2 separate regions of the Homo sapiens genome follow, and region 2 is linked to region 1. Evidence: promoter capture Hi-C in human tissues and cell types (Jung and others, 2019). All regions are on one chromosome and are shown on one strand. Each heading gives the region's core, a stretch centred on a gene start or on the middle of the fragment in contact. The rest is flanking DNA. Distances are from core to core; before and after follow the strand shown. Region 1 holds the start of EXOC3L1 (exocyst complex component 3 like 1). Region 2 overlaps CBFB (core-binding factor subunit beta).

What was found. The method cuts DNA at HindIII sites, captures the fragments that hold promoters and counts their contacts. A contact is called where the count stands out against the background at its distance.
Region 2: a fragment that was not itself captured here is called in contact with the fragment with the promoter of EXOC3L1 in region 1 in 3 of the 25 tissues and cell types used here (dorsolateral prefrontal cortex, lymphoblastoid cells and mesenchymal stem cells).

What each region holds. Positions count from the first base shown.
Region 1 is chr16:67,186,288-67,192,570 of GRCh38, forward strand. EXOC3L1 (exocyst complex component 3 like 1) reads right to left here and starts at 3,849. Exons shown (of 14, transcript NM_178516.4): 1 at 3,684-3,849; 2 at 3,344-3,396; 3 at 2,733-2,893; 4 at 2,434-2,653; 5 at 938-1,550; 6 at 734-851; 7 at 472-597; 8 at 270-370; 9 at 1-60. The coding sequence starts at 3,389. E2F4 (E2F transcription factor 4) reads left to right here and starts at 5,868. Exons shown (of 10, transcript NM_001950.4): 1 at 5,868-6,075. The coding sequence starts at 5,941. RefSeq lists enhancers at 5,591-6,283, 5,690-5,829 and a silencer at 5,920-6,109. The HindIII fragment of the contact is 11,498 bases long and covers 2,802-6,283 here.
Region 2 is chr16:67,086,635-67,092,917 of GRCh38, forward strand. All of the region lies in intron 5 of CBFB (core-binding factor subunit beta), which reads left to right. Among named protein-coding and RNA genes, the nearest start is that of PHAF1, 20 kb to the right of the region's middle. The HindIII fragment of the contact is 5,567 bases long and covers 1-5,493 here.

The DNA of each region.
Region 1 (6,283 bases), core at 2,599-5,098:
GGGGCCATTGATTTCCCCCTGAAGTGGTCTCGGGAGAATCGGATCAGAGCATCACTGAAGCTGCAATGGGCAGAGGTGGCTCCTGGACTTGCTGCTATGCTGGCATCCCCACAGCCCCAGTCCCTGGTACTCCTGTCCCACCTCCAAGATACCCAAGTCCTTGTTTGAAAGAGCCCTTTCCCTGTGACATGTCTTATTCACTCAGAGCCCCTTTGGGCTGCCTGGGGAGCAGGGATAGGGATCAGGAATGGGTCAGTGCCTCAGCAAACCTCCTCAAGAATGTGCCCAGTTCTGACAGTGCCATGCCATGCACTCGCTGTTGCAGTGACTCACTGACCAGGCTGGCCACACGAATGTTCTCTTCCAGGATCTGCAGGCAGAAATGAGCAGCCATCGGCAAAGCCTCCCTCCTTCCTCTCCTCCCCACTGCCCCATGGAGGCTGCCTGCCTGTCTGGCCACTTCCCACCTACCTGCAGCACAATGGCTGGCATTGGTGAGTAATAGGAGCCAGACGGGTCTGTGTTGGGCCCATGCTCCCGGCCCCACTCAGCTACCTCCCCATCCAGTGCATTCTGCAGCCACTGAGACACACTTGCCTGGGGGGAGGGGCCAGGGGCAAAGGAATGTAGCAGGGATCTGACCCTGCTGGAGATGGGTAGACATTCCACTCTGCAGATAAAGGCCCACAGCAGATAAGTAGGACTTCTCTGGACCTGTGCCTCAACTACTCACCTGGATGTTGGCCACAAATGTTGCCTCCAGCTGCTCAATGTTCTCCAAGGTCAGAAGGGGCTCCAGCTGGGACACATCAGCCTCAGGCCCCAACTCCAGGCTCCCCATCATTTCCTGCCTGGAGATAGGTGGCCTGGTGTCACACCAAGCCACCAAGCCCCCAGCCTCTGATCCCCCATGTCCCGCTGCCCCAAAGGCACTGACCCCAGGTACACATGCAGTGCCCAGTGCAGCAAGGCGAAGGCATCCGCAGCTTCTAGCTCAGGCCCTGCAAGGAGGTTCTGCAGGCTGCGGCGCAAACCACTATGCAGCGTGTGGGCCCATAGCTGGACCACGTTGTACTGTGGCGGGCAGCAAGGCGCTACTAGTGCCTCAGCTGTGGCCAACTCGACTGGCAGGGCCACTCGCAGAGCCTCCAGCCACCCTGGTAGGGCCCCTGGTGCAGGCAGCAGAGGTGACCCAAAGTGGGCCTGCTCCAGGCCCTCCTGTAGTGCCCTCAGACAGCGCTGACGCCAGTCCCGGGGGACCTGGCCCAGGGGGGTTGTTCGTCCAGTCTCCACCTCCGCCACACGCACAGCAGCCACCAACAGGGCTGGGTCCTCCCGTGCCAGCTTCCCTGCGGCCCCTGCAGCTGCTTCCACAGCCTGGCCCAGTGCCTCGAACAGAAGGTCCAGCCCCTGGAAGACTGGCAACTCCAGGCCCCCCAGGGGTGCCCACGTATCCTCTCGCAGCTGCTCCAGCTCCCGAAGGCTCACATATGCCTCCAAGAACTGTTGGCCATCAATCAGAGTCTGTGTGTGGGACACTGCAGCCGGCACTAATGAGAGTGAAAAGGAGACGGCCCTGGGTCTCAGCCTTCCCACCGCCTCAATGTGTACAGCAGGGGATACTGAGGCCCAGGGCGGGGGTGATGCATAAAATATTTAACAACCAGTAGAGTAAGCTGGGCACAGTGGCTCATGCCTGTAATCCCAGCACTTCGGGAGGCCAACGTGGGTGAATCACTTGAGGTCAGGAGTTTGAGACCAGCCCGGCCAACATGGTGAAATCCCATCTCTACTAAAAATACAAAAATTAGCCAGGCATGGTGGCACATGCCTGTAATCCCAGCTACTGGGGAGGCTGAGGCAGGAGGATTGCTTGAACCTGGGATATGGAGGTTGCAGTGAGCCGAGATCACACCACTGCACTCCAGCCTGGGTGACAGAGTGAGACTCTGTTTCAAAAACAAAACAAAACAAAAAATGAACAAAAAACCATAAATAAATAAATAAATAACCAGTAGAGTACTGGCCAATCTAAGAGGATCTTGGCAATGTCCTAAAGACCTGGTGGGCCAGAGGTCAACCCATGAACTCATGGAATATGAGGAAGCTGAGGATCCTGGAGGGAAGGCAGGGGAAATCGGGGGGTCCTGCCAGTACTCGCTCAGCCACTCTGTTAGGGAAGAGTTTGAATATACTGATAACCAGGTGGCCAGAGTCACATGACTGGGTGTCTGTCCTGACTCAAGCATCCCACACGTGGGAATCCCAGGATGAGCTGCCTCATAGGCCATGGGAAGCCCGGGCTACTGTCTGGGAGGTCCCTGGTGTGCTGCTCTATGCAGTTCCCCATCTAGTGCCCCAGCCCCTTGATTAGGGATGGGTGTTTGTGGACTGACTATTGGAGGCTGAGGCCCAGGGTCCCTGCATGCTCACCTGCCCGCAGCCGAGGCAGCAGGTGAGACAGGGCCTGCAGTTGCTTGTGCTGGGCAACCCGCTCCCGTAGGGGCTCTAGAGTCTGTAAGGCCTGGGACATGCCCTGGAGCAACCCACGGGCCTGGCTCAGGGCCTCCCGGGTTCCCTGCACCACCTCAATGGCCTGGGCCAGCTGCCACACACCAGTCTGCACGCCTTCCAGGTATGACTGCATCACTGACTGTGGAAAGATGGAGCCATGAGGCTGGGCCAGCCCTGCAGCACAGTCCCAGCACCCGCACCCCCTGCCCCATGCCCACCTTGAGGCGCGATTCCAGGGAGCAGGTACGCTGCACCTCGCGGCTGCGGTACTGGCCTAGCCTGGCCAGCTGCTCCGGCCGGTAGAAGATGCCTGAGGCCCACTTGAGCGCTGCACCCCGGGCCAGCTGCTCTGCCCGCTCCTGCTCTGGCCACTCAGGTCCTGGGAAGGAAGAGCCTGGGCAGCCGTGTAGTCAGGGAGGAGGGCCCAACGACCCCAGTCCCAGCTTTCTTATTTATTTATTTATTTATTTATTTGTTTGTTTATTTGTTTATTGAGATGGAGTCTCGCTCTGTTGCCCAGGCTGGAGTGCAGTGGTGCAATCTCGGGTCCCTGTAACCTCCGCCTCCCGGGTTCAAGCGATTCTCCTGCCTCAGTCTCCCGAGGAGCTGGGATTACAGGCGCGTGCCATCACGCCCAGCTAGTTTTTGTATTTTTAGTAGAGACGGGGTTTCACTATGTTGGCCAGGTTGGTTTGGAGCTCCTGACCTCAGGTCATCTGCCCATCTTGACCTCCCAAAGTGTTGGGATTACAGGCGTGAGCCACTGCGCCCAGCCAGTCCCATCTTTGTTGCCATCATTCCTCCCCTAGTCCACCCAAAAGGTTCATACCAGGGGACAACGCCGGCTGCATCTCATCCTTGGCTGCTGAGTCCATTGTGGGCCTGGAGGAGCCAGAGCTGAGGTGGGCCCGGGGCAAGCAGGCAGAGTAGATGCCCCTGTGAGCTGCTGCCTCTGTCTAAGCCCTTCTGAGAGGAGGAAGGAGGTTCTTCCCGGCCCCCTCGGGAAGTGAGAGGGAGCGGGTGTGATGCGGAGGGCACCTGGGAGGCTTTGCCTGCTAGGTTTCCCAGTCGTGCCCCTGCAGATGTCAAGCGAGACAGAGTGGGCACAGGCCTCCACTGGACCCTGGTCCTGCTCTGAGCTGCACAGGACAGTTTGGTACAGAACTTACCAGATTTGATCAGGCGTCCAGTTCTCCCTCCAAAAATGACCTTGGCCTTGAGAACAGCCCTCTCCCCAATGCAGCTGGGCACGCCTGCCACTTGCTCACAGGGCCTGGGCAACTCCAGCTGACTCCAGCGTGCAGCTGAATTCCTCTCCCCAAGGAAGTCTCTCTCCCACTCCCCACCCAGAAGCCCCTTCTTCCCACCGAGGCTCCTCCCTCCCCAAGGCCATCAACAGAAAGGAAGGAAGCTGAGTCTCTGGCATTTTATTCCCAACAGGAAAGAGTGTCTGCACAGAGGGTGGGGACAGCTGGGCGACACTTCCCTGAGGGGCGGGGGGGTGGGGTGTACTTGTACTCAACCAGTCTTGACCAGCCTACCCAGAACCTCTTAGTGCTCAGGAGAGGAGATAGGGATTTGCTAGACTTGGCCTCAACCTGGGGTGGTGGGCAGAGTGTGCAGATATGGATGCAGACGACATCAACAGCACAGGATGAAAACTGTGTTGGCCAGCCTCTGAGGAGGATGTGTACCTCTGCGGAGGAGTGAGAGGTGGCAGGCTCTTGTGAAGAGGGGTGTGGTGGGGGGTGGTAGGAGAGGGTCATGAAAGCTGTGTTTATCTTTTTTGTTTTAGACAGGGTCTTGATCTGTCACCAAGGCTGGAGTACAGTGGCACCACCATAGCTCACTGCAGCCTTCTGGGCTCAAGCGATCTGCCTGCCTCAGCCTCCCAAAGTGTTGGGAGATTACAGGCGTGAGTCACCGCAACTGGGCAGCTGTGTTTATCTTGAGAGTTATAGGGAGCCAGGGAAGGGACTATAAGGTGGTAATTATTTAGTGGATGTTCAGTCCACCACCCAAATCCACCCTTCAGGACAGAAGTGCTCATTCTCCAGCTGCCAGGAGTGTAGGCTACTGAGATCACACCACTGAGTCTCTCAGTCAATATTGGGGTGCAAAAGCATGGTACCATCGTGTGAACATGAACCCTTCAGAAGTGCTACCCCAATTTCAGAGATCCTAGTGGGATAGGCTGAGGCCTATAATATAATTGCATCTGCTCAATTCTGCTTGTCTTAATCCCTTAAAGGTGTGGATCCTGACCAGGTGCGGTGGCTCACACCGGTCATCCCAGCATTCTGGGAGGCTGAGGTGGGAGGATCTCTTGAGCCCACGAGTTCAAGACTAGCCTGGGCAATATAGTGAGACCCACATCTCTAAAAAACTAAAAATAAATGAGCCGGGCATGGTGGTGCATGCCTGTGGTCCCAGCTACTTGGGAGGCTGAGGTGGGAGAATCGCTTGGGCCCAGGAAGCTGAGACGGCATTGATCTTGCCACTGCACTCCGGCCTGGGCAACAGAGTGAGACCCTGTCTCAAAAAAAAAAAGTGTGGATCCCCAACAAACTTGCTGCAAAACCCTATCTCGAGTCCCATTTCCCAGAGGACCTGATCTAAAAGAAACAATAATAAATAGTAACAATGTTAAAAGTTACAAAATGACCGTATCACACATTCCTGCATGCCAGGAATGACTGAGTGCTTTACTGATATTTACACATAGGTAAACACGTTTGCATTGGCTGAAGTGTTCATAACCCCATAGTCTCTGAGCACTGTACTGTGAGGACAAGACGAGCGAAAGATGAGGCTAGGACCATGGGTGGAACAAGGTGGACAAGGTAGATATAGTTAGTGCTTGCTGTTTGGCAGGAAGTGAGGGATAGGAATAGATGGGGTGACCCCAAGACAGTAGGGCAGCCTTTAGGAACAGGTTTGATGTGGCAGTAAAATGAGTTTGAAATATATAAAAGAATAAATAAAGAGAAAAAAATGGAAAAGGAACAGGTTTGAGGGAGCAGATTGGATTAGTCAGGTAGTGTGGTCTCCTCTCCCAAGATGGGGACTAGGCAGAGTTAGTGATGTTGGGGCAGATTGGCAAGGAAAGTTCCGATGGCGTCCCCTTCTCTACTGCCAGGGCGGCCCACTGACGCCCTTCTCATTCCTCCCCAACTTCATCCCAACTCCCCGGTCTACCCAGGTAGTTTTCGTCTTATTCGGAGGCTGGACATTTGCTACTGGTCCCTGAAGTTTTGCGGCTGCACCCACAGACAGCAATAGCGCCACGTTCCCTGGAAGGCGCACGGGACGGAAGCGGAAGCAGTAACGCTGGCTCCGGCTGCCCGGCGGCCAGGAACGGAAGCGGAAGTGGCGGCGGCGCCGGCCTGGCCTGGCCTGGCTGAGGGGAGGCGGCGGGCGGGCGCGATGGCGGAGGCCGGGCCACAGGCGCCGCCGCCCCCGGGCACTCCAAGCCGGCACGAAAAGAGCCTGGGACTGCTCACCACCAAGTTCGTGTCCCTTCTGCAGGAGGCCAAGGACGGCGTGCTTGACCTCAAGCTGGTGCGGCCTGGGCTAAGGGGAGACAAGGGAGGCTGGTGGACCAGGCCTGGGCCGGTAGCGGGAACCCCGGGGGCGGCCCAGCTGGGTCCTCCGAGAGCCGGCCGCCATCGTGTGCTTTCTCACAGGAGAGAAGCCGGGGGATGTTTCATTCATTCGGCCGAGGCCATCGAGCTACAGCTATGGGCCAGGCTCGGGCTGCAGGTGTTCG
Region 2 (6,283 bases), core at 1,460-3,959, 100 kb before region 1:
ATAATACATATTAATGGTCTCTGGAAAGATTCTAAATATTTATAATGTGTTGGTTTATATTAACTAGTTAAGTAAAGTAATAAACCCCAAGTGTGTTGGTCTGTATTCTGCATTAGGGACTGAGAAATATATAGATGAAAATGCATTGTTTCTGTCTTTGATCAGCTGTCAGTCTTGTGGGAAAATGATGGATAAACAGATCATTGCAGTGTACTTTAGCAACCACCATACATAATGGAGGTTCAAAAGGGACAGCAGCAGTGTAGAGGAAGCTTAAGTCTGCCTCTGCTTGGGAAATTCACAGGGTAGTATACTTAGAGGGATTTGAAGGAAGAGTGTGTTTTGCCAGCTGTTCAAGTTGGAGAAAGCATTCTGGGCAGGACAAACAGTGTATGCAAAGGCATGGAGGAGTAAGGAGGAGTAAGAGAGCCTGCCAAGTCAAGAGAGTGTGATTGGTCAGTATTTCTGGAGCAAGCTAACATGGCTTTAAATGAATATAGGAATCATTTTCTAAAAAGTGCTCTTCAGCTACATTATATTTGGAGATTAACTATTTGACAATTAATGGAACAACTGTTGAAAGCTTTTGTATGTATTTTGCTTTACATAAAACTCTAGATTAATTGACTAAGAATTTTCTATTCTAAATTGTGGTGGCTCACACCTTTAATCTCAGCACCTTGGGAGGCTGAGGGAGGATTGCTTGAGCCCAGGAGTTCAAGACCAGCCTGGGCAACACAGCAAGACTTTGTCTCTACAAAAAATTTAAAAACTAGCTAGGCATGGTAGCATGTGCCTGTGTTCCCAGCTACTTGGGAGGCTAGGTGGGAGGATCGCTTGAGCCCAGGAGGTCAAGGCTGTAGTGAACTATGATTGTGACACTGCACTCCAGCCTGGGCAACAGAGCAAGACCCTGTCTCCCTGACCCCACAAAAAGAAATAAATACATTGTTAATTTGATTTTTCTAATTTAAAATGTTGGAAGAATATTTTGGTATGTGAGTTTATATGTATATATGAACAGAAATATAGTCTGTTGATAGAAGTGTCACATAATTTGTTGCTCAGATAGATTGTTTCTACTTGTTTTTTTGTCAGTGATTGAGAGCATGGGCTTTGTAGTCAGGCCTAGTTGAGATTCCTGCTCCGTCACTTGCCTCAAGAGCCCTAATTTTCTCACAGAATTTGAGTATTAAATGGGAAAATGCTTGTAAAGCACTTAGTATGATGCTTGGTATGTGTATGCCTACAGTAAATAATAGCTCTGAAGTACTTCTTTTTAGCACTAAAAGCTCCACCATAATGCTGGTTCCAGTTAATTGAATTATTTGGCTAACAAGAACATCCTTTTAGTTCTCTGAAGTGTATCAAGGCACTTTCCCTACATTATGACCTAGAGCATAGAGAAAAGAGTTATATTTTCATCAATGATTTAAGATCCTGTAGTCCCTTATGGCAGTAATTTAAAACATCAGTTCTTGTAGAGAACTGTCATCTGGAAAATTGGGCTGGAATCTGACTCCAGCACATGCACTGGCAATCACATAGGGGAGTTTGGGGTTTGTGTGTCTTTTGGCACTTAGCGTGTATATATTTTGCTTCTTTGTCTTTTTTTTCCATCCATAAAAAATTCCTAATGTCACCTTATTTTCTTGCAGTTTACCTTCTTTTTCCTAAAAAGAGAATATTGGAGAAAAATGTTGTTTCCCCTCTGTGATTCAGATTATCTTTAGAGATTCAAACATCATCTAATCTAACATTATTACAGTTGATAAAACTGAGAGTCTCCAAAAAATTAATTGACTTGCTCTCCCTCAAATATTTGGTTAATGGAAGAAACAGTGAGTATTTAAACCAGTTTCCTAACCAGGAGGCCTGCACAAATACAGCTTAGCGCTGGGAAATTAATTTCCACACCACCCGTAAAGATGCTTAAGCTGAAAAATAAAATCTGCCAGGAGAGATTAAGAACCGTTTTGCCTGGAATAGAAAAGGCTGAGGCAGAAAAGAAAAATAATGGTTCTAGTGGGTGGTCCTGATGCCTGACTGGAGAGGAGGGCCAGAGAACAGTGGTAACTCATGGGTGGCAGCAAGTCAGTAAACGGCCTGTGGAAGCTTGAGATCCTAGCAGCACAGAGGTTTAGGGATGTCCTCCACTGTTTGGATAACTTCTGAGGCCTCCAGCCCTGCCATGCTAAACTTGTAACAGTGGTGCTCGTGAGTATTTAATCTATGTGTAAGGTTAAGATTACTAAGGGGGGAAGCAGAACTCCAAGTGGTTGGTGGCCCAAGGGGTTTTGATTTTCAACAGTGTCTTTTAACCTGAAACTAGTTATAAAATTCCTTGAGCATTCTTCCATTTCACCATGTGTAAAATTTAGAAAGTTTTCGATCCTTCATGATAGGATTTAGTGTTTTCTTTTTCTCATTTTTCTGGAACAGCCTATTTCAGTAGTACAATATTTTCTTTACCTTTCAGAGGTAATGGCAGATTATCATTAACTTGAAATGAGAAACTATAGTGAAATGAAGAAGCATTGTTTATGTTAGTAACCTTTACCAAATACTCTTGTCATTGATATACATTAAAATGATATACATAAGGTACACAGTACTGTGTATAATATCTTACTCTCTGGGTATTTTTCCTACTCTGTGGGTAATTTTTGTTTAAATGTGCATAGTCATTCTCTAGTAGAATATCTAAGAAACTGGAACTAGAAACTATGGGGGAGAACCAGGTACCTGGGGGACAAAATAAGCAAATTATTATTTTTCACTGTGTATCTTCTGTACCTTATGAATTTTGTATCATTAATTATTTAGAAAAAAATAAAATTTGCTTTCAGTATTACACAGAATAATGAAAACAGAAGATTCTAGACCTTGCTATCTCTATTCTCTGGCATATAGGCTGTTTTTTATGTGAAACCCTTCCTCCATTTGAAATTGTATACAGAGCCCCACTGTATAAAACAGTTTTTTTAAAAGGCACTGCTCTGGGCAAAGCCAGGGTAGGGATTGTTCTGGTCTCCCTCTGGTGTCCCTGGGGGTGTTTTTACGGAACCCAGTGGGTGGCAGAACATAATGAGGACTCTGGATGTAGTGGAATGAGCACAAGGTTTTGCATCCCGGCTCCACTACTTGTTGCCATATAGCATTGAGAAAGTTGCTTATTCTCATTGAGCCTCATCAGTAAAAACTCCCTCCCAGGTTGTTGCAGAGCTCAGTATCTGAGGCTTAGAATGGGGACTCAGTGGAAGCCAGTTTCTTTACCCCTTCTTTCTGTGTACTTGGCTCACAATATATCTGGAGTGGCAGGAAAACAGTAAAAGTAGTCATATCCTAACTTTAGACTATGAAAGTCGAAGATACTATTTTGCCAAGCCATTTTAGATTCTGGTGTTTTTTGTTTGGTTGGTTGGTTTGGTTTTTTAAAACAACCAGTAAAGGATTTTGGACTTTTCTTGGCTCTGTTGGAGGCTACCAGTTACTGTGGGGATTGAGTAGTGACTAGAAGTGGGTATGAAGAGAACTTCCCATGTTCTGGTAATGTTAGTTCTTGACCTGGGTGCTAGTTAGGTGGGTGTGTTCGCTTTGTGAAAATTCTTCATTACATACTTAACAATTTGGGCACTATTCTGTACTTGTATAAAAAGAAGGCTTTTAAAAATAAAAAATAATCACAGACGTTACTTTTGTGAAATGCTCTCCATTGGCATCTGTTGCTATATAGAAGCATCCTAGCACCTTTTCTGTCTGAGAATCCTTCCTTGATCTGAAAATGTTGACATGTTTCCCATGACCTTTCTTTTTGGGGTATATATGTCTATAACTAATTCAAATGTCTTTTGTGAAGGAAGATGGAGGTTAATAAAGGACAGATTTCATGCTCTGATCATAGTTGAGTTAGAAAGATAGCAACTTGTACACTAGTCTCTGTTTCCAGAGACTGCCTTCAACTTGATTGGCCTTTTGACCTAAAACTGTAATATAGCACTCTTGGCTTTTAACTCAGCTCCAAGGTGACAGGGTGCTTAAAGATATTTTCTCTATTATCTTAAAAATGCCTACATTTGGTTAGATTATAAAGTGGCAGCAAATAAATGGTTGTCTTTAATGTCAGAGAATGGGTAAATTATTGTTTATCCTACTATGAGCAATTTTAATACAATTCAAATCATAGAATTTTATGTGGAAACTATTTGGAAATAAAAACAGGCAAAAAGTTTTATGTGGTTTTTGTATTTGTATTTTGCATAGTTTTGGGGCCTTCAATTCTGTGTGGTCCAAGAAAAAAATCTCAGCCTCTATTTATTTTAAATTTCCGAAGACTTCAGTTTTCAAATTATTTAACTCTACCAATATTCTTTCTTGTGTATGGATAAATCAGCATGAGAATATGTCTGTGCTAGGCCTTCCTGGGTTGTGTTTTGGGTAATGGCAGTAGATGAGAATGAACTGGGAGTATGAACTCAGACTGAGAATGAGAATCGGAAGAAGATTAATGAAGGAGGAAAAGGATACGAAATCTGACTTCCCCCACTACCAGAGGAAGAGAGTCTTGGTTCTCTATCAGAGGAGCAATAGACTTTATTAAGATTTATTTTTGTTTTAGCCTTGTTTTAGTTTCTAAAAATTATTCTATCTGCAGGATATGGATTTTTCAACATTTGAATAGTTATTTGAAAAGTTCATAAATGGAAATGGGAAGTGATGAACAGCTTTGTTATAATAACAGCATCATGAGTGCATCCTATGTGCCAGGCAGTGTACATTATAATTTTGGCTTTATATTTGATCTTTAAATGCTCTTGTAAGTTACCTCTTCATTTTGAGGAACCGAGGCTAAGAGAGGATAAGAAACTTGCCTAAGGTGACATAGCTGAAGTGGTAGGGCCATCATGGTCCAAGCCCAGAAATGCAGATTATTCCCACTATTTCATTTTAAAATGTTACTTTATATTTGAAGTTTTCCTTAGGTTGCATACTTTGTAAGAACTATATTTTTTGACATGCCTGTTGGAACAGCTCTCGCAGTCTGCTTATCTGACAGATGTTTATAATTGTCTGCTGACTTTTTTTTACCCTTTTTAAAATTTTTTTTTAATTTTACTTTAAGTTCTGTGATACATGCGCAGAATGTGCAGGTTTGTTACATAGGTATACCTGTGCCATGGTGGTTTGCTGCATCTATCAACCCATCATCTAGGTTTTGTTGTTGTTGTTGTTTGTTTGTTTGTTTGTTTGTTTTTTGAGGCAGAGTTTCGCCTTTGTTGCCCAGGCTGGAGTGCAATTGCACGATCTCGGCTCACCACAACCTCCACCTCCCGGGTTCAAGCGATTCTCCTGCCTCAGCCTCCCAGTCATCTATGTTTTAAGCCCTGCATGCATTAGGTATTTTTCCTAATGCTCTCCCTCCCCTTCCCCCCTACCCCTTGACAGGCCCCTGTGTGTGACATTCCCTTCCCTGTGTGTGATGTTCCCCTCCCTGTGTCCATGTGTTCTAATTGTTCAACTCCCACTTATGAGTGTGAGCATGCAGTGTTTGGTTTTCTGTTGCTGTGTTAGTTCTCTGAGAATGATGGCTTCCAGCTTCATCCATGTCCCTGCAAAGGACATGAACTCATTCTTTTTTATGGCTGCTTTTTAACCTTTTTAATGAGTTTGGGGAAAGTGCATTCCTTTCTCTCATGTTGAGACTTAAAATTTGTGCTTTGTGTCTCCTCCAGACTTAGCAATAGGGAGAACTAGCAGTGACTAAGGAGGCTGACATTAATGCCAATTGTAAGTTAAAGGCTCATCTTTTCCATAGGTCTGATTCTGTGTTCTGACTCTGCCTCCAACTATGTTACTTGGGGGAAATTACTTAACCTTAGTCTTAGGCTGTCATCTGCACAATGAGAGTTGAATCAGATCTCTCAAGTACTTTGCCACTCTAAAATTCTATAATTCTGTATTCAGAATTTTATTTTTCTCCCTTCCTTCCCCCTGAATTTTATTTTATTTTTTTTAGAGACAGGGTGTCATTCTGTCACCCAGGCTAGGTTACAGTGGTGCAATCTTTTTTTTTTTTTTTTTTTTTTTTTTTTTTTTGAGATAAAGTTTCACTCTGCTGCCCAGGCTGGAGTGCAGTGGCCAGATCTCGGCTCACTGAAACCTCTGCCTCCTGGGTTCAGGCGATTCTCCTGCCTCAGCCTCCCGAGTAGCTGGGATTACAGGTATGCACCACCATGCCTGAGTAATTGTTATATTTTTAGTAGAGATGGGGTTTCACCGTGTT